Regions from separate parts of the Homo sapiens genome. Here all the other regions are linked to region 3. Evidence: promoter capture Hi-C in 16 types of primary human blood cells and fetal thymus (Javierre and others, 2016). All regions are on one chromosome and are shown on one strand. Each heading gives the region's core, a stretch centred on a gene start or on the middle of the fragment in contact. The rest is flanking DNA. Distances are from core to core; before and after follow the strand shown.

Region 1 (2,747 bases), core at 45-2,544, 350 kb before region 3:
AACCCCAGGCTATTATAAACTATTTTAGGTCCTCCATGCAGCAGAGGGTGCAAGAGAAAGGAGAGATAGTAGAAGTAAATGAAGAAAACAGAATTCTGTCAACTGAAAAGAAAAAAACTTTTGCTCAAAAAAAAAAAAAAAAAAAGACAAGGTCCCAGGAGAAAAACAAAAACATGAAGTCCTTTTAAATACAAACACACACATATGCGTGCGCGCGTGCGCACACACGCACGCATCTTGGATGTTAGGTTTTAATTAAGCTGACTTTTAACCATTGAGCTCCTTAAAAAAAAACTTTTAAAATCTCATTACCATATTTCAGCTAGGACAAATTGCTGCTATTTCAGAAGTACAGCCATTGCTCTTTCAGTTTGGCCTGGCTAACAAAAAGGTGGCCTTGTTATGTAAATGAAGACCCTTAGAATAAAAAATTTTTCTTTTTGTTTTTTTTTTTTTTCCTTTTTCTGGCCATTTTTTCCCCTCCACCCCATACCACGTGTGTGCGTGAGTGTGTGTGTGTGTGTGTGTGTGTGTGTGAGAATTTAGCCACTTCAGAGGCCTTGTTCCCCATAATTTGGAATTTCCTTTGGATTTGATCAAGTTGGATAGAGTTGATCAAACCCAATGGGAAAAAGTCCAAAACAACAGTGAAAACAGGAATGAACAACAACAACAACAAAAACAGTTAAGCAAAACAATCACACAACTTATATCATTACTGAGTACTCTAATAGTAAGGAGAAATTAAGACCAGCTGGTTGTTAATCTTAACTTTAGCCAAGACAAACCCCAATTCAGTTACTTAGCTAGGGATGGGTCTCAGGGTGTAGACTGCTCTCTACCATACTAGAAGCAGAGAGAAAAAAAACTCATCTTCCCTGTTGGAAGTGAGCTCAAACTCCATAAAAGAGTTACCTGTCTTCCATAGCCATGGAAACAGGAAATCTTCCCTTCCTTTTTGGAAGCAAGTAAAAGTTTTTTTGGAATTTTACTTGCTTTTTTTTTTTTTTCCAGCAAAATAAACTTTAGATCTCTACCACATTTGGGGACATCAGGGATTCTCTGGAGGGGGTGCTCTCAGGCCTCAGCAAATTGTCCTATTGGTTTGAGCCATAAAGTTAGCTCATGCTGGTACCAAGCATAGATTTGTCAAAGGTCAGGGGCATCTCCACTCAGAATCCCTTCATGGTTACCAAAATGTGAACCCTGAAAATCTGAGACAGGTCTCAGTTAATTTAGAAAGTTTAGTTTGCCAAGGTTGAGGACATTTGGCCATGACACAACCTCAGGAGGCCCTGATGATATATGCCCAAGGTGGTGAGAGCACAGTTTGGTTTTATACATTTTAGGGAGACAAGAGACATCAATTAACATATGTAAGATGAACATTGGTTCGGTTTGGAAAAGCAGGACAACTTGAAGCAGGGAGGGGGCTTCCAGGTCATAGGTAGATAAGAGATAATTGGTTGCATTCTTTTGAGTTTCTAATTAGCCTTTCCAAGGGAGGCAATCAGATATGCATTTATCTCAGTGTGAGCAGAGGGGTGACTTTGAATAGAATGTGAGGCAGGTTTACCCTAAGCAGTTCCCAGCTTGACTTTCCCTTTTAGCTTAGCGATTTGGGGGGCCCAAGATATTTTCCTTTCACACCAGTATTGCACCTGTAGCTTGCTTGGCTCCTCAGATAGGGCTGCCAGCTTGACCAATAAAAATACAGGATGCCCAGTTAAATGTGCATTTCAGATTTAAAAAAACTAATGTATTTTTAGTATAAATATGTCCAAAGTAGTTAATGGGACACCCTTTTAGCTGGCAACTCTGCTCTAGGAGAACCTCTAAGTAATTCCCTGATGGCCCATTTTGATGTTCTTCCATCTTCTGGGTGGATTCAAGTCAGTGAAGCCTCAGACATAGTTCTGTCACTGGTAAACTTCCGCCAGCACTTCAAGGTGTTGGAGTTTTCTCTTCCAACTATTACAGCTTTGGGACTCTGTCTCTGGGTTTCCTCTCCTAGTTTTTTAACTTAGCGGGCCATTTCACAGAGTGCCACTTAGCCAGCCATTTAAGGAGGCCTTAAAGTTTACTGATTAAGAGCATCATCTCTCCTTATAGACTACCTGGTTTAGAAGCCTGATTCCACGACTTACTAGCTAGGTCATAACCCTCGACAGGTTTCTTAGCCTTTCTGGACCTCGGTCTTCTCATTTCTAAAATGAGGATGAAAATATTACCTACTTTGTCAGGTTGCTGAGAGGATTAAGTGATGCCAAACACATAAAACTTAAAAGAATGCCATATGGTGGTATATGGCAAGCACCTCAAAAAAGTGAATTATAGTTACTATTTCTCTGCAATGAGCTTCTTGTGTAGCTTATACAGAGGGACTTTTTTACAGGAACTCAGATTGTTTTTGTATCTAATATGCTCATCTAAGTATAGTGATTGCTTTCCCACAGACTAGCCTTTCTCTTCTTCATTCAAAGCCTTACAGGTGATTGACCTGTTCTCTTGACACATTAGTCCTCCCCTCTTAGCTCTCCTGCCCATGAGGAAGCAGGTTCTGCCAGCTTTATTCCCAGATGCAGCTCACCAAGCATTTGCACGTTGAGACTGCATTTCTGTGTTAACTTATGCTCTGTATTCTCCCATCCACTTCTCTGAGTTCAGTAAATTATAGTTGGATTCTCTTCGTAGCTATTTATCTGAAGAAACTGTCTTTTCTAGTTTCTAGGTTCCAGCCAAGAACA
Region 2 (2,700 bases), core at 5-2,504, 370 kb before region 3:
TCCCCATTGCTAGTGAGGCTGAGCTCTGTTTATACAGTTAGTCACAATTTGGATATTCTATTTTATGAAGTACCTATTCAAACCTTTTTGCCCATTTTTCTTATAGATTGTCTTTTTCTTATTGATTTATAGACATTCTTCTATATTCTGCATAGAAATCCTTTGTCATATTTATGTTGCAAATTTTCATTATGTGTCTTACCTTTTTACTCTTTTATTGTGTTTTGGGGTGTATATGTTCTTTTGGTGTAATCTAAAATTGCAATAATTTTCCTTTTGGGTAGAGCTTTTTGTGTTTTGTTGAAAAAAATCCACCGTGTCCCAAGATTATAAAAAATTTCTCCTAAATACCTTCCAAAAGCTTGATTGTTTATCTTTTAAATGTAAGTCTTTTAACTTGTCTGAAATTGATTTTTATCTATGGAATAAGGAAAGAGTCCAATCTATTTTTCCAATATGGGATCCCAGTTACCCCAGCAAGTTTAGTGGAAACATTTATCCTTTCCCTAGTGATCTACAGTGTCACTTATCAAGTGTTGGTGTATATGTGGACTTGTTTCCAGGCCTCTATCCTGTTCCCTTGATTATTTTATCTACCACTGAGCCAACACTATATGATCTTAATTATTATAGCTTACAATAAGTCTTGATATTTGCTAGGACAAATCCTCTCTCATCTCCCACCTTGTTCTTCTTGAAGAATGTTTTTTCTCTTTTTGGCCCTTGGCATATCTTAATAAATTTTAGAGTAAGTTTTTAAGCTGTAAAAAAAAAAAAAAAATTCTGGGGGTTTTATTGAGACTATAGTAAATCTACAGATAAATTTGGAGTAAATTGATTATCTTCATAATATTGAGCTTCCTATCTATGAACATAATATAACTCTTCGTTTATAGATACACTTAATATCTCTCAATAGAGTTTTATAATTTTCTCCAAAGAGATCATCTTTTGTTAAATGTATTTCTTGATATTTCATTTTTTATGCTATCTTTTAATTTTTATTTATTTATTTATTTTTTGAGATGGAGTTTCTCTCTTGTTGCCCAGGCTGGAGTGCAATGGCACGATCTCGGCTCACTGCAATCTCTGCCTCCCGGGTTCAAGCAATTCTCCTGCCTCAGCCTCCTGAGCAGCTGGGATTACAGGCATGTGCCACTACACCCGGCTAATCTTGTATTTTTTGTAGAGACGGGGTTTCACCATGTTGGCCAGGCTGGTCTCGAACTCCTGACCTCAGGTGATCCACCTCAGCCTTTTCTGCTATCTTAAATGATATATTTTTAAATTCAATTTTTGTATTTTTTATTGCTGATGTGAGAATAAATTGATTTCTTAAACTATTGATTATATATCTAACAGCTGTACTAAACTCTCAGAGTCTTATAATTTATATGTGGGTTCTTCTGAATGTTTATGTATACAGTCAGTTCTAAGTATCTTCAAAAATGATTTTTTTTCTTTCCACTCCTTATGTGTTTGACTTTTTTTTTTCTTGCCTTAATGTGCTGAGTAGCTTATTCAGGTCTCTTTACTTTTACCTAATGTCTTTTTCTGTTTCAGGGTTACATCTAAGATACCACATCACATTAGCTAAGGAGCTATCATGTCTCCTTAGGCTTCTCTTGGCTGTAATATTTACTTAGATTTTTCTTGTTTTGGATGACCTTGAGTTTCAAGGAGTACAGACCATGTATTTTATAGGTTACCTCTCTACTGGAATTTATCTGATTTTTTTTCTCATGGTTAGACTGGGATTATGGGTTTGCAGGAGGAAGACCACATCATATTAAAGTTACATTCTAACATAATTTATCACCGTTGATATTGACGGATTGTCACATTTCCTTACTGTTAAAGTTACTCTTTTTTTCATCATTTCCATACTGTACTCTTTGAAAGGAAGTCTCTATGAAAGGAAGTCTCTATGTGCAGCCCACATTTAAGAATTGATTATTTCAGATTTTCTACATAGGCAATCATGTTATCTGTGAACAAAAACAGTTTTACTTCTTTCTTCCCAATTTGTATACCACTTATTTATTTATTTGCCCTATTTTATTGTCTAGAACTTTCAATGCAATGTAGAAAAGCAGTGGTGAGAGACGACATCCTTGCCTTGTCCTTATCTTAGTAAGAAAGCTTCTACTTTCTCATTTTTTGTAGATGTTTTAATTAATTAATTAATTAATTTATTTATTTATTTAAGATACAGGGTCTTGCTCTGTCTCCCAGGCTGGAGTCCAGTGGTGTGATCATAGGTCACCCCAGCTTTGAACTGGGGGCTCAAGTGATACTTACATATTGGCCTACCAAGTAGCTAGGGCTATAGATGCATACTGCCATGCCTGGCTAATTTTTTTTTTTTTTTTTTGAGATGGAGTCTCACTCTGTCACCCAGGCTGAAGTGCAGTGCCATGAGCTCAGCTCACTGCAACCTCCGCCTCCTGGGTTCAAGCAGTTCTCCTATTTCAGCCTCCCAAGTAGCTGGGATTACAGGCGTAGGCCACCATGCCTGGCTAATTGTTGTATTTTAGTAGAGACGGGGTTTCACCATGTTGGCCAGGCTGGTCTTGAACTCCTGACCTCAGGCGATCCACCTGCCTCAGCCTCCCAAAGTGCTGGGATTACAGGCATAAGCCACCGCACCTGGCGCTTTTTTATTTTTATTTTTTAGCAATGGGGTTTTGCTATGTTGAC
Region 3 (2,700 bases), core at 109-2,608:
GAAACTCCATCTCTACCAAAAATACAAAAATTAGCCGGACGTGGTGGTGCTCGTCTGTAGTCCCAGCTACTCGGGAGGCTGAGGCAGGAGTATCGCTTGAACCCGACAGGTGGAGGTGGCAGTGAGCCGAGATCCTGCCACTGCACTCCAGCCTGGGCAACAGAGCGAGACTCCGTCTCAAAAAAAAAAAAAGCTTAGAAAACAAAACAATCTAATTTGTGCGGGCATCCTGCTATTTTCTACTCTATTTCATGTTAAGAAAATGGTGTTCGGGCCCCAGTAAACAGACCCTACGCAATGTTCTTCAAACTGCGGGTCGCGGGCCGTGATCTCGAAATTAGTGAGTCATGAGCAACACTGCTTAGAAAAATGCAACTGAACAGAATGGAATTGAAGAGACGAGAAACATTGCTTCCATCACGTCTCATTTGGTTAGATAGCTGTGTCCTAGGTTGCGACGTAAAACGTACCTTAGTGTGAAAAAAGCTGAAAGCCACTTAGCATTCTAATCCTTCACAAGTTTCCCACGCCTGTCAGCGACCTTGCAACCCTTACTTGTTATTCTCCAGTTCCTTTAATAGCTAGATTAAAAACCCTGGCACAGGACAGGGTCCATGCGAAACCCGTATCAACAACGCCAGTATCCGTTTAATGGGAGACGCAGAATTCAGCCACCTCTTTCCATGAGCCAAATTTGCAGATCCCTCAGATCAGGACCAGCCACTTAACTGCCAAGAGGATGGATGCTTCGCCTCATCCCCACAGCTGGCAAGCCCAGGCTGAGTCCCTTACCCGCGTTGCAGTCCCCAAGCCCGGACCCAGCCAACTTGTCCCGGAGGCCCAGCGCCAGGCTAGGGGGCGGGCAGTGTGGCCCCGCGCGTCCGAGCCTACCAACCGCGGCGCGCGCCTCGGGAACTGCGCCAGCCAGCCAATAGGAAGCGCGGAAGTGAGAGCGCGCCAAAACCGACCCAGCCAATGGGGCAGTCCCTCGACTCACCTCCCAACCCCGCCCCGGCTCCCGCGACCGTTCAACAACCCCTTCGCCCTTACCCAGGCCGCGGCCCTGCAGCTGTCAAAGTAGGACGCGGCTTCAGAGGTTGGCCGGAGGGAAAGCGAGTCGTCTAGAGGCTGTGCGCCTTGCGCCCCTGCGTACCCACTTCCTGCCGCCTCTTGCCCACTTACTGGGTGGAGACGCTCAATCCTCGTAGCGAACGCACGTAGCTATGGCTGCAGCACCTCGCAAAAGGCCACAGCTCACCTACGCTGATCCCCACGGTCGCTGGAGTGCCCGGCGCGCTCTGCAGTAAAGCCCTGCTAACTCCGCTCGCCCGCTCCGAACAACCACGTGACCAACTGACGCAGACGAGGGGCGGGGCCTCTGGATCCCGCGAATCGCCTCTTCCCTCGGCCCCGCCCCTTCCTGCGCCTGCGCGGTCAACGGTAGCGAGTACTTGAGGACCGTGGGGGTTTTCTGCGGGCTGGGAGGCCTGTGCCCTTTGACCCTCCCCTCCGACCCTGCTCTTGGAACTTCCTTAAAATGCAAAGTTTTAGCCCTTTACGAAAGGGAGAAAGATTTGCCTCCATTAGTCGTTAGCACCAGAAGAACAAAATATTGTATGTGCATATATATTAATATGTAGTACACGACATATATTTGTGTAAAGCCCTGGCTCCACGGACTCGTAGTTGTATTAGGGGCTTTTATATTTTGGCTTTTTGTGTTTTGACTATGGTGTGGTGCGGTAGGAATTGTTCAGGAGACAACCGATTATCAGTTAATCCTGCAGCTATTCATTGAGCGCCTTATACGTGCCAATTACTACTGTTCTAGGCACTGAAATTACAACTGCTGTTGCAATTTGAAGGAGCAGAAACACCTTGGTAATAATTACGTCTAGCCTTTTCCTTCTTTTTTTTTTTTTTAATTGAAACGGAGTCTCGCTCTGTCACCCAGGCTGGAGTGCAGTGGCGCGATCTCGGCTCACTGCAAGCTCCGCCTCCCGGGTTCAAGCGATTCTCCTGCCTCAGCCTCCCGAGTAGCTGGGACTACAGACAAAGGGAGACCCTGTCTCAAAAAAAAATTAATTTTAAAATATTTTAAAAATAAAAAGCAGAAGGAAGGCGTTATCGAGTACAAATAAGGGACATATTACCAAATGCAATGTATGGATCTCGTCTGAACTAAACACTGTATTTAAAAAAATACCCAAGGGAAATTTGAACACTGACTGAATATTTTGGGATGGTAAGATATGAGTTGTTTAAGGTTACCTGATGAGCAATGGGTTAAAAAAAGAGATTAGTTGTAATGACAATATTGTGGGTTTTATTGTAATAGCTTCTACCTATAAATGGTAATTACAGATGAAATTTTATACCATATATTTTATTTGAAATAATTATTGAGAGAAGCAAGGGAAAAGGTATAAATCAAGCTTTCTCAGTATGGGCTCTATTGACATTTTAGACTGGGCAAATTGTTCGTGGTGGGGGCTGTCCTGGGCATTGTATGCTGTTTAGCAGTATCCCTGGCCTCTACCCTCTAGCTACCAGGAGTACATCCCAATTGTGAAGACCAAAAATGTCTGCAGACCTTGTCAGATAACCTTCCGCAGGGCAAAATCATCCCCAGTTGAGAACCACTGGTGCGAATAAAACAGTATTGGCCTTGTGTTGATAACTGCTGAGGCTAGTATGGAT
Region 4 (2,771 bases), core at 259-2,758, 310 kb before region 3:
AATAATAATAAAAAAACTGGCACTGGGCATGGTGGCTCACACCTGTAATCCCAGCACTTTGGGAGGCCAAGGCAGGTGGATCCCCTGAGGTCGGGAGTTTGAGACCAGCCTGGCCAACATGGTGAGACCCCATCTCTACTAAAAATACAAAAATTAGCTGGGCGTTGTTGTGGGCACCTGTAGTCCCAGCTACTTGGGAGGCTGAGGCAGGAGAATCGCTTGAACCCAGGAGACGGCAGTTTCAGTGAGCCGAGATCATGCCATTGCACTCCAACCTGGGCAACAGAGCAAAACTCGGTCTCAAAAAACAAACAAAAAAACTGGATTTTTACAGGTAAGAAAATCCTGTGTGAGGCACCGTATAGATGATAAATAGGCTTACATCTTTTTAGACAAAATAAATCTTTACATTTATTGCTTTATATATCAAATACTTACCAAGCTTGCTTTATGCCAAGCACAGTGTTAAACACTTTGGAAATGTTAAGACATTTAATCCAACAACAACCCTGTGAACAGATACTACTATCTGCCCCCATTTTGTGGGGGAAGAAACTGGGATTATAAGAGTTAGAATAACTTGCCCATGGTTATACAGCTAATGAATGGTGATGCGGGGCTTTAACTCAAGCAGTCTAGCTCAAAGTCTATGCTCTTAGCCACTGTGTAGCCTTTCAAATCTGAATTTACAAAACCTATAAATTGAGGTTTCTTAGCCTCAAGAGATTCACCTTTGAAAATTTTTAAATAACTTCATTTAAAATATTTAATTTGGAAAAAAAATCACTTTTTCACAGCTTTCCATAATGCATCTGCTGGATAAAGCAAGCAGCAGCTCTGTTGCATATTTAAATACACCATGGGGCAAAATCATGATGCCTGCTCTGCACATGGTACTGTTATACTGTGGCTTGAGGGCTTTTATCTCCCAGGATTTTAGGGAGAGTTCTATATGCTGAGGTTTGGTTAAAGAGGTTATGCCTATGTGTGGAAGAGCTCCTTTTCTTGCTACCCGGAGACTTCTCATATTGCCTCCCTCCTGCCACCTTTTTGGAGGTATTAATTGCCTTTCAAACTCATCATTTCTATCACACTAACTCTCCATTCTTAAATGCATGGCTCCTGTAGCTCTCCATCCTCCTGCTCCGACCTGGAAGGGCTCCTCTCTAGCTCTGCTGCAAATCTGCTACCTTTCACTGCCTCCAGACCCCACCCATGCCTTTCCCTTCCTTGCTTCACTTCTATGTGGGACTTTCTGCTTAACTGTCTCCTGCCTCATGGTGTGTAAGTAAGTTTCAGCATGTAATTCTGGGTGACTAATCATTTTCCATAGACACCGGAAGGCATTGCTCCTTTGGCTTCCAGTTATAGACAAGGTTGCTCTAAAGAAAACTTATGCTAGCTTGATCCTCCTTTCTTTGTGGGTGACTTTTAAGAATTACAGGATTAGTCCATATTTACTGATAAAAAGACTTTTTTCAGCTGATTTGGGGCTCTTATGTATAGGTGTAGGATCTGTCATCCAGTAGGCTCTACTTACAGAGGGCTCGCACACTGGTGCAAGGCACATCTCATAAACTGGTGAAGCTGGGGCAGACTGCATCAAGTAGAATGCGGGATGAGAAGGGGGCAGGCCTGCTGAGCTCCGGCTGATCTGAAATTTCCAGAGAACTTGGAAATCTGGATTTTCATGTGAAATACCCAAAGTTATAAATGTAGAAAGCTGAGTCAATGTTCTTAAAGAGTTATAGACTACATGAAATGAGAGCTAGGCTGTATTTGGCCAAAGGATCATCAGTATGCTTTAAGCTGTGAAGGTGAGGAGAGAAGCCAGCTAGGGGACCCCCGAGTGCAAAAATGTGGAGGCTCTTGCTTTCAGCATCACAAACACACTACCTGCCCTTGTTCTCCCCCTACCCCAAAATTGATTCTATGTATTGAGAGAACTGTAGAAATATATTTGACCTGGGAGCCATATATAGGGGTAGAGAAGGGGCCAGCTATCTCATGGACATAACTTTTGTGCTTGCCCTCCTGTCATCCGCAGTACCTACTTCTCTTCCCTCCACATCTGAACACCCCTCCATGTACTGTCTGGGATTGTACAGCCTCTGCCCTGCATCTTCGGTTTCCACTTGTCTGCATGCTTTCTAGATTCACGTAATTAGTTGAATTCTCCTGTCAATGAATCACTTCCTTTTCTTTTCAATGTGGCAGTTTATTCCTGTATAATTGCTTTGCAACATTTTAGTTGGATCTGGAAATGCAGAGGAGATAGGTTATGCACGCAATTTGTCCGTCATTGTGAACCAATAGTCTTCTCCTTAGCCCAGTGACAGTACCTCCTTGTTTTCCTGAATATTCTTTTGCATTCTTTTGGAGTTCCTCTTTCCCCAGCCACTGCTTAAGTCTCTTGTTTCCTTCCAGGACTCTGTGTTCATTCCACTGTTCTTCCCAAGTCTCTTCCTGGGTAAACTCACCTGCTAACATCACTTCTCTGTTAATGACTCCAAAAATAATCCATATGTCCAGCCCAGAGCGCTCTCTGGCTACCTCCAGTGCTGTCAAGCTTTGGGTTCTTAATAGTCAACTGCCTGCTAGATATAATTGTCTGAATTTCTGAATGCTTAATACATAATTTTCAACTTGTTCAAAGTTCAATTCCTCATCTTCCTTCTTTAAAATGTTCTTTTTCCTTTTTCTATCTGATCGTTGGTAATATCATTCCCCAAGTCAGTCAAGCTAGAAACAAATGAGTAATCTTTGGTTCT
Region 5 (2,757 bases), core at 196-2,695, 290 kb before region 3:
GCTAGTTAACTAGACAGCCCAGTGTCACGTTATTCATATGAATCCACTCGTGTCTTCCTCTACGTGAGGCAGGTTTCTCCTATGCCCTCTGCATGGGTGTAGGGGAAGGTGGTTCTGGTGATTTCATCTGGCCCCAGGACCTTTGCAAGTTCGTAGCATACTCCCAGTGTGCCCACAAAACCTGTGCTTTGCAATGCTAAAGGCATTTCTGGAGACATGAGAGTGGCTAGGTGGGAGGGGAAGGGCTCAGGAGGCCTGGAAATAAGTTCCCAAAACACAAGCATTGGTTTAGGAGGAATTCGGAATTGGTTTAGGAGGAATTCTCCCTCTCCATCCTGTATCTGCTGCTTTTTCTCCACTTAGGACACTTTAAAAAATAAAATAAAATAACTGGGTTTAAGTATACATGTGGATATTTTATTTTCCCAGCTGCAGCAAGAACAGCCTGGATGTTTCAGATTCTTGGGGCTTTCAGAGATGGGTCATGTCAACAATGCTGTCCTCTCTTAGGATATTAAAGAGTATTAAAGGATTTCATTCAGAGGGTTCTCCTGACATGTGGTGGGTTGGAAATATGATCCAAAGTATCCAAATTACAAATGTAAGAAAACAGTAATACTGAATGTTAAATTATTATTAAGGACTTACATTTGGGCTTTCTACTGGCTTTCAGTCAATATGCTTTGCTTTTTTTTTTTTTTTTTTTTGAGATGGAGTCTCACTCTTGTCACCCAGGCTGGAGTGCAATGGCGTGATCTCGACTCCCTGCAACCTCCGCCTCCCGGGTTCAAGCAATTCTCCTGCCTCAGCCTCCTGAGTAGTTGGGCTTACAGACGCCTGCCACCATGCCCAGCTAATTTTTGTATTTTTTAGTAGAGACGGGGTTTCACCATGTTGGCCAGGCTGGTCTCAAACTCCTGACCTCTAGTGATCCACCCGCCTCAGCCTTCCAAAGTGCTGGGATTACAGGCTTGAGCCACCGCACCTGGCCATGCTAAGCTTTTTAACAGTCATGATGACTAGTGTTTATTGAGTGTCCATTATGTGACTGTTTTGCATATATTATCTCTAATCCTCATAGCAACTCTGAAAGATATGTATTATTCAACCCATTTTATAGACGAAGGCTCAAGGAGGCTCAGTAACATGCCCAGAGCCACAATAGTGGGGGGCCCAGAATTCAGATCTGAAGTAATTTGATTTCAAATATTAAATATTTGGCCATTTTCTCCCCACCCAGCATTGTGGCTGCTAGCCATCCTTTATATGAAACATTCATCTCAATTACTAAAAGTGGCTTAAACCTATTTTCTCCTACTAACATGAATATATACATCTCTGTTCTCAGCAGAAGACACAAGAGTACAGGGATCAGAAAAACCCTTGAATGTTGCAGACTGCCCCAGTGCCATCAGACTTCAGATGTGTGACTCATTTTATTTTTGGTCAACACACGTAAGTCACAATAATACATCCTCTTTTTCCAAGGAAGGATGTTTAATAAGAATAAAGATGGCCAGGCCTGGTGGCCCATGCCTGTAATCCCAGCACTTTGAGAAGCCGAGGCGGGTGGATTACCTGAGGTCAGGAGTTTGAGACCAGCCTGACTAACATGGTGAAACCCCGTCCCTACTAAAAATACAAAAATTAGTCGAGCGTAGTGGCACATGCCTGTAATCCTAGCTACTCCAGAGACTGAGGCAGGAGAATCGCTTGAATCCGGGAGGTGGAGGTTGCAGTGAGCCGAGATTGTGCCATTGCACTCCAGCTTAGGCAACAGAGTGAGACTCCATCTCAAAAAAAAAAGGAAGAAAGAAAGGGTCTAATATTGAACTTTGCATAAAAGGGGCCACAATTAATCAATTTAATTAGGTGGAATATGCTAAGCTTTTAATAAGCATTGTCTCATTTAATCACCAAAAACAGCCCCTGTAGAATTGGTATTTACTGATGGTCTGACCTCAAGCAAGTTACTCTGTCCCACTGAGCTCCAGTTCCCTGGTCTACAAAATGGAGATAATGATAGTTCCTGCTTCATAAGGTTATGATGATATTAAATAATCCACATAAAGTGCTTAGCCCAGCACCCAAAACAAAGTAAAAGCTCAGATAGTGTTTGCTCTTGTCCCTATTTTACAGATCAGAAGCCTGAGACTCATAGAAATTAAGTATCGTGCCGAGTCACATCACTGAGAGCTAAACCTCAAAGTGAAATTCACTAACCACTCTGCTATACTGCCTTGCTTAGCTAATGGTTGGTTTAATTAAATAAGTTAATTAATTATTGAAATTGTATCTTTTGTCCCCTGACTCTACTGTGTCTGGAGATAAACTCTGTTGGTTAGAGCACAGGGCTACAAAGACCAAGGCTAGTTAATACATTCCTCACCAGCCATCCTGCAACCCCAAAAGGATGATGGATGGAGGGGCTGTGGATGAATCCATGCATAGCCATCACTGCTATCAGAAAACAATCCTAGCCCTACTGTTAGTAGCCCTAGTTAGAGTGACCCTGTGTTCTGGTATGCCCAAACCAGTCTTGGTTTATTGCAGTCTTCCCGGTACAATTATTAACAGTGCCCTCTCGCTCTCAAAAGGTCTTGGTTTTGGCCAACAATTATATGCCCACTCTACCCATAAGTGGTAGAGCAGCATGTTCTCATCATCCGCTGCCTCCTTGGTCCTGTTCACAGACTGTCAACAGCCATGTCTTGTACACTGGGACTTTTCCCCTACCCCTCATGGCTGACTGCTTTA
Region 6 (2,750 bases), core at 239-2,738, 350 kb after region 3:
AACAGAGTGAAGCCGAAGGCCAGGCAAATTTAGTAAATGAGTAATTCCATAAATTGGGAAAGAGAGGGAGAATAAAGTACCATTTGATGCTGTTTTCTTAAGTGTAGATTTTCCCTATTAATTGACACTGGGTATTAAGGGATAAGATAAGCACAGGGCTAAGCATAGTGTCTGACCCATGATACAACCTCCACAAATTTTAGCTATTATTATTATTTCTAGATTTCATCAGTAGTTTTCAAAATTAAATAAGAAACTGTCATATCCTGCTCTGACCAAAATACTGTCAGCCAGTTTGATCACCCGTACCTCATGTGCCAGCTTTGGTTCAGAATAACTTTTGTCAGTTTCCACAAATCAAATCCGACCTCGGAGTATGAAGATTTGCCACCACTGAAAATATTTAAAGACCAGGCATGGTGGCTCACATCTGTAATTTCAGCACTTTGGGAAGCCGAGGCGGGTGGATCACTTGAGGTCGGGAGTTCGAGACCAGCCTGGCCAACATGGTGAGAGCTCGTCTCTACTAAAAATACAAAAATTAGCCAGATGTGGTGGCACATGCCTGTAATCTCCGCTACTCGGGAGGCTGAGACATGAGAATCACTTGAAACTAGGAAGCAGAAGTTGCAGTGAGCTGAGATCACATCACTGCACTCCAGCCTGGGTGACAGGGCAAGACTCTGTTTCAAAAAAGAAGAAAATGTTTTAAAAACTTGCAGCAGGTTTTGAAGGCAATTCTGAAAGATGGGTCCTAAAATGTTTTAAGCAGCAGGGTAGGTGGGAGGTACGCTAAACACATTGACAAAGCCAGCTTCTAGGGGAAGTCCTTACTATTCAAGATATGTTTTCCACATTGTACCAGAACTAAGCATGCACTGCCCTACTTCTCCTTTATGATTTATGTGCCAGAATAGGGATTGGGGTGAGCATCCTTAGCTGCGGTTTTCAGAACTTATAGATGTGAGAAAGCGGTCTGTAAACAAAGGGAAAGTGGCATTTGAGTTCAAGCCAGGGGATCTGGCCAGTGTCTTATTCATCTTTATATTTCTAGAGCATAGCATGATGCCTGGACTACCATAGGAACTCAATAGATGTTATGAATGAGCCATGAATTCTGTCTTGTGTCCCTTACAGAACCAAGTCGTCATTGCTGCTGGAAGGAGTTCTTTGGGAGCCCGACTCTCCGGGGCACTTCACGTCTATAGCCTTGGCTCAGATTGAAGATTTCACTGCATTTCCCCACTCTGCCCACCTCTCTCATGCTGAATCACATCCATGGTGAGCATTTTGATGGACAAAGTGGCACATCCAGTGGAGCGGTGGTAGATCCTGATAGACATGGGGCTCCTGGGAGTAGAGAGACACACTAACAGCCACACCCTCTGGAAATCTGATACAGTAAATATATGACTGCACCAGAAATATGTGAAATAGCAGACATTCTGCTTACTCATGTCTCCTTCCACAGTTTACTTCCTCGCTCCCTTTGCATCTAAACCTTTCTTCTTTCCCAACTTATTGCCTGTAGTCAGACCTGCTGTACAACCTATTTCCTCTTCCTCTTGAATGTCTTTCCAATGGCTGGAAAGGTCCCTCTGTGGTTATCTGTTAGAACAGTCTCTGTACACAATTCCTCCTAAAAACATCCTTTTTTAAAAAAAGAATTGTTCAGCCATAAAGAAAGAACAAGATCATGCCCTTTGCAGGGACATGGATGGAGCTGGAGGCCATTATCCTTCATAAACTATTGCAGGAACAGAAAACCAAACACTCCATATTCTCACTTGTAAGTGGGAGCTAAATGAGAACACGTGGACACATAGAGGGAAACAACACACACTGGGGCCTATGAGAGGGCGGAAGGTGGGAGGAGGGAGAGATCAGGAAAAATAACTAATGGATACTTAGGGTGATGAAATAATCTGTGTAACAAACCCCCATGACACACCTTTATGTATGTAACAAACCAGCACTTCCTGCGCATGTACCCCTGAACTTAAAAGTTAAAAAAAAGTTGAACTTAAAAATAACAGATTGGCCCATGCCAATCAAAGTATAATAGAAAGCATAGTATACAGAAAAAAAAAAAAAAAAGAAACTGAGGGAGGAAAAATAGTACAGAGTAAAGCATGGGGGTGAGGGATAACCTCACATTCCAAATCACTTGTGACTTAGTCCTTTTTAACTTTTATTTTAGGTTCAGTGGTACATGTGAAGGTTTTATCTTTTCTGTTCCTCCCACCTTCCCCACTCAAGTAGACCCCAGTGTGTGTTGTTTTGTGTTCATAAGTTCTTTTAACTTAGCACCCACTTGTGAGAACATGCTATACTTGGTATTTGGTTTTCTGTTCCTGGTCGTGTGTTAGTTTGCTAAGGATGATAGTCCTTTTTTTTTTTTTTTTTTTTTGAGACGGAGTCTTGCTCTGTTGCCCAGGCTGGAGTGCAGTGATGTGATCTCAGCTCACTGCAACCTCCGCCTCCCAGGTTCAAGTGATTCTCCTGTCTCAGCCTCCCAGGCAGCTGGGACTACAGGTGCACAATACTACGCCCGGCTAATTTTTGTATTTTTAGTAGAGACAGGGTTTCACCATGTTGGCCAGGCTGGTCTCGAACTCCTGATCTCAGGTGATCCACCCACCTTGACCTCCCAAAGTGCTGGGATTACATGTGTGAGCCACAGGACCTGGCCGATAATCCTTTCTTAATGAGGATTAATACCTTTTCAATGTTTATATAGTGAAGGACAA
Region 7 (2,700 bases), core at 186-2,685, 330 kb before region 3:
TTTCCAATGACTTTCAGTGGTGGAAAATTTACGGGTAATATTTTGTATGAAAGTGATACCAAGTATCACGCATGGCACATTGCTAAATGCTGTAAGAGTAAATACAAATGTAATTGAGACATGATCCCTCCCCACAAGAAGCATGCAATCTTATTGGGAAACCAGATTTGTAAGTTGCAGATTACCAACTAAGGTTTCTAGCTCAAAACATGATGGAGCATGAAGGAAATGTTGAGATCTGAGAGCACCTCAGGAGGAGCCAAGAAAGAGAATCATCTGGATTCACCATGTAGACCGTAGAGCAGAACAGGAAAGGCCTGAAGTGGGTCATCCAGGCTTAGGTGCTCTTGGAATATGGTTCCTAATGGGGTGTGTGCAGCCTCAATGTAGACACATCCCCTTGGCACTGTGGATGCTCATATCAGGGAGCAGTGTGCCCAGAAGAGAGTCCTCTAGTTGGGGACCTCTAGTGCACCCAGAGGAGGGTCCTCTGGTTGGGGGTCTTAGGCAGGAGCCCTTCTGCTCTGGGTCCAAGAGTGGGGTTGGGGTTGACATTGGGGAAGTGTGTATCCTCAACACTAGTATTGTAAGTGCTCAATACATGTCCACTTAATAAATTAATGTATCTGATAAGTGATCCCTGTCTAACAGTGTGGCAGAAAATGCCCTGCTTTGCAATATGAAGATAACCTTTGTCCCGTTCTTTGCTTTCTTCTCTAAGTCTATATTCATTGCCTCCCGGAGTGTGTAACCACATGAGAAATAGAGGGAAGGTTCTGTCCTTAAGAAGTTAAAAGTGTGACTGGGAAGGTAAAACATACTTATTAAGGGTTAACTAGCATCATGCCATTCTGTGTGATGGTGAGTTTGTGTGTGTGTGCACATGTGCGTGAGTACACACATATACATTTAAAAAGGTCTTGAATATACCAAAATATTATGTCTAGGTGATGGGTAGCTTGTATATTTTTTCTGTATCCTTGTCTGTGTTTGTCAAATTTTATAGAAACAATAACAGTAACAGCTCTCTGACCTTCTACCCTGTATGTTCTGCGTCCTGTCTAATTCCTCAAGTTCCTTCACTGCCTGTCACTCTGATGCTTGCTATATATCAGCCCATCCTGCTTTTTGTTTCTTAGACCCAAAGTGTCAAGTGCACACCTGCCCTGGGTCTTTGTGTTTGCTGTTTCCATTTCCTGGAGTGCAGCTGGCCCTGATTTGCATGTGACCAGCAACTTTTCATCTATGTCTCAACTCAAATGTCACCTCTTCACTGACCATCCTGTCTAATGATTCCCTCCATCTCATCCCACTCACCCCAGCCACTCTCTGTTCCATTGCCCTGTTTTATTTTCTTCACGGTGCATCATTCTTTGCAATGACTTTATTTACTTGTTCATTATTTGCTTCTCTCACTAGAATGAACACTCCATGAGAGCAGGGACCTGCTTTGCCTTGTTCACCACTTTATTCCCAGTGGCTAGAACCACGTCTGACACAGAGTAGGTGCACAATAAATATTGGTTACGTGAATGAATAAGCAAATGAACGGCACTGTGAGAGGGGCATCATGACTCCATTTACAGAGAAGATACAGACATGGAGAAGTTAGGTAGTTTGCCCAAGGCTGCCCAACCAGTAAGTGGTGGGTCAGGATTTTCAACCTAACTGACTCCAACGTCATGCTCTTAATCACTGTGTATTTGTCAGATTATGTTGAACACACCTGTTATAATCTACAAATATAATGAAGCCATTTTCATGTTAGTAAAGAGTTAATTTCAAGAATTACAATGCCCTTAAAATGTGCATGCACACCAACTACGATTATGCATCCTACCCTGTGTATTCAGCTAGGGTCCGAATGAATTGCCATATACAAGGAGAAAGCTCAGTGCCTTTGGCTGGCTTGGTAACATTTTCCTAGTAACCAATTGAAATTTCCAAGATAAAAACTCCGGGGAAATCCTCCACTAATGACATGGAGCCTTGTTCTATTTCTGCCTTAGTTACCTATCAATTTTATCTCCTGAAAGAGTTCCAATCTGCTAGAACATGTGTTTTTCTGTGATTTTTCCAGCAGAGGAGACTCTAATCTAAATCCTGTCATTTCAGAGGAATGGAAAGCCCAATTCATTAAAACAGAAAGGAAGAAGCTCCTGAACTACAAGGCTCGGCTGGTGAAGAACCTGCAACCCCGAATTTATTGTCCCTTTGCTGGGTATTTTGTGGAATCTCACCCATCAGACAAGTATGGCTAGACACTTTGTACATTTTTACATACAACTTAACGTATGGTGGAATGAGCGACTTTGCTGTGAAAGCAGTGTGACATGAGAAGGAAAGTGATTAGTAGGTGTCTGGAACTTTTTAACAAGCTGCTGGAGAACCCAGAGCATGAATAAAAGTTACACTTGGCAGCCAGGAACTCTTTCAGGAGATAAAATAACAGATAGATATTCTCCGAAAGGATCCCAGGAAAGAGGATGGCAACTGCCATTTATTATGTGAAGTGAACTGGGGACTTTTAACTAAGCCATCTAAGTTAATCTCCCAATAGCACTATGCGTAGGAAGGGGGTATTGTTCCTTTTTTGCAGATAAGGAATCTGAAACTCAGAAAGGTCAAGGGACGTGCCCAAAGTCACCCTGTTGGAAACATGAGTTGAGAATGGAACCCTGGTATGCTTAGTTCTAAAGC

What was found. Contacts are between HindIII fragments. The CHiCAGO score rates a contact against its expected background, and 5 or more counts as called.
Region 1: a fragment that was not itself captured here is called in contact with the fragment with the promoter of GMNN in region 3 in 2 of 17 cell types (neutrophils and naive B cells); the score reaches 6.0 in neutrophils.
Region 2: a fragment that was not itself captured here is called in contact with the fragment with the promoter of GMNN in region 3 in 8 of 17 cell types (neutrophils, activated CD4 T cells, total B cells and 5 more); the score reaches 10.0 in neutrophils.
Region 4: a contact is called between a fragment that was not itself captured here and the fragment with the promoter of GMNN in region 3, in 12 of 17 cell types (non-activated CD4 T cells, total B cells, naive CD8 T cells and 9 more). The highest score is 12.5, in non-activated CD4 T cells.
Region 5: a fragment that was not itself captured here is called in contact with the fragment with the promoter of GMNN in region 3 in 9 of 17 cell types (neutrophils, non-activated CD4 T cells, M0 macrophages and 6 more); the score reaches 12.0 in neutrophils.
Region 6: a fragment that was not itself captured here is called in contact with the fragment with the promoter of GMNN in region 3 in 11 of 17 cell types (total B cells, neutrophils, naive B cells and 8 more); the score reaches 13.0 in total B cells.
Region 7: a contact is called between a fragment that was not itself captured here and the fragment with the promoter of GMNN in region 3, in 1 of 17 cell types (activated CD4 T cells). The highest score is 6.2, in activated CD4 T cells.

The regions. Positions count from the first base shown.
Region 1 is chr6:25,127,835-25,130,581 of GRCh38, reverse strand. The region is part of intron 2 of LOC124901282 (a long non-coding RNA gene); the gene reads right to left. It also overlaps the pseudogene CMAHP. Among named protein-coding and RNA genes, the nearest start is that of CARMIL1, 150 kb to the left of the region's middle. The HindIII fragment of the contact is 6,422 bases long and covers 1-2,747 here.
Region 2 is chr6:25,144,605-25,147,304 of GRCh38, reverse strand. No RefSeq gene overlaps it. Among named protein-coding and RNA genes, the nearest start is that of CARMIL1, 130 kb to the left of the region's middle. The HindIII fragment of the contact is 1,781 bases long and covers 364-2,144 here.
Region 3 is chr6:24,773,595-24,776,294 of GRCh38, reverse strand. It overlaps GMNN (geminin DNA replication inhibitor), which reads right to left and starts at 1,358. Exons shown (of 7, transcript NM_015895.5): 1 at 1,051-1,358. RefSeq lists an enhancer at 364-443. The HindIII fragment of the contact is 2,242 bases long and covers 196-2,437 here.
Region 4 is chr6:25,088,161-25,090,931 of GRCh38, reverse strand. It overlaps the pseudogene CMAHP. Among named protein-coding and RNA genes, the nearest start is that of RIPOR2, 150 kb to the right of the region's middle. The HindIII fragment of the contact is 2,127 bases long and covers 445-2,571 here.
Region 5 is chr6:25,064,521-25,067,277 of GRCh38, reverse strand. No RefSeq gene overlaps it. Among named protein-coding and RNA genes, the nearest start is that of RIPOR2, 130 kb to the right of the region's middle. The HindIII fragment of the contact is 888 bases long and covers 1,002-1,889 here.
Region 6 is chr6:24,427,506-24,430,255 of GRCh38, reverse strand. It overlaps GPLD1 (glycosylphosphatidylinositol specific phospholipase D1), which reads left to right. Exons shown (of 25, transcript NM_001503.4): 25 at 1,138-2,750. The coding sequence ends at 1,224. Among named protein-coding and RNA genes, the nearest start is that of MRS2, 26 kb to the right of the region's middle. The HindIII fragment of the contact is 4,577 bases long and covers 1-2,750 here.
Region 7 is chr6:25,105,910-25,108,609 of GRCh38, reverse strand. It overlaps the pseudogene CMAHP. Among named protein-coding and RNA genes, the nearest start is that of RIPOR2, 170 kb to the right of the region's middle. The HindIII fragment of the contact is 3,413 bases long and covers 1-2,700 here.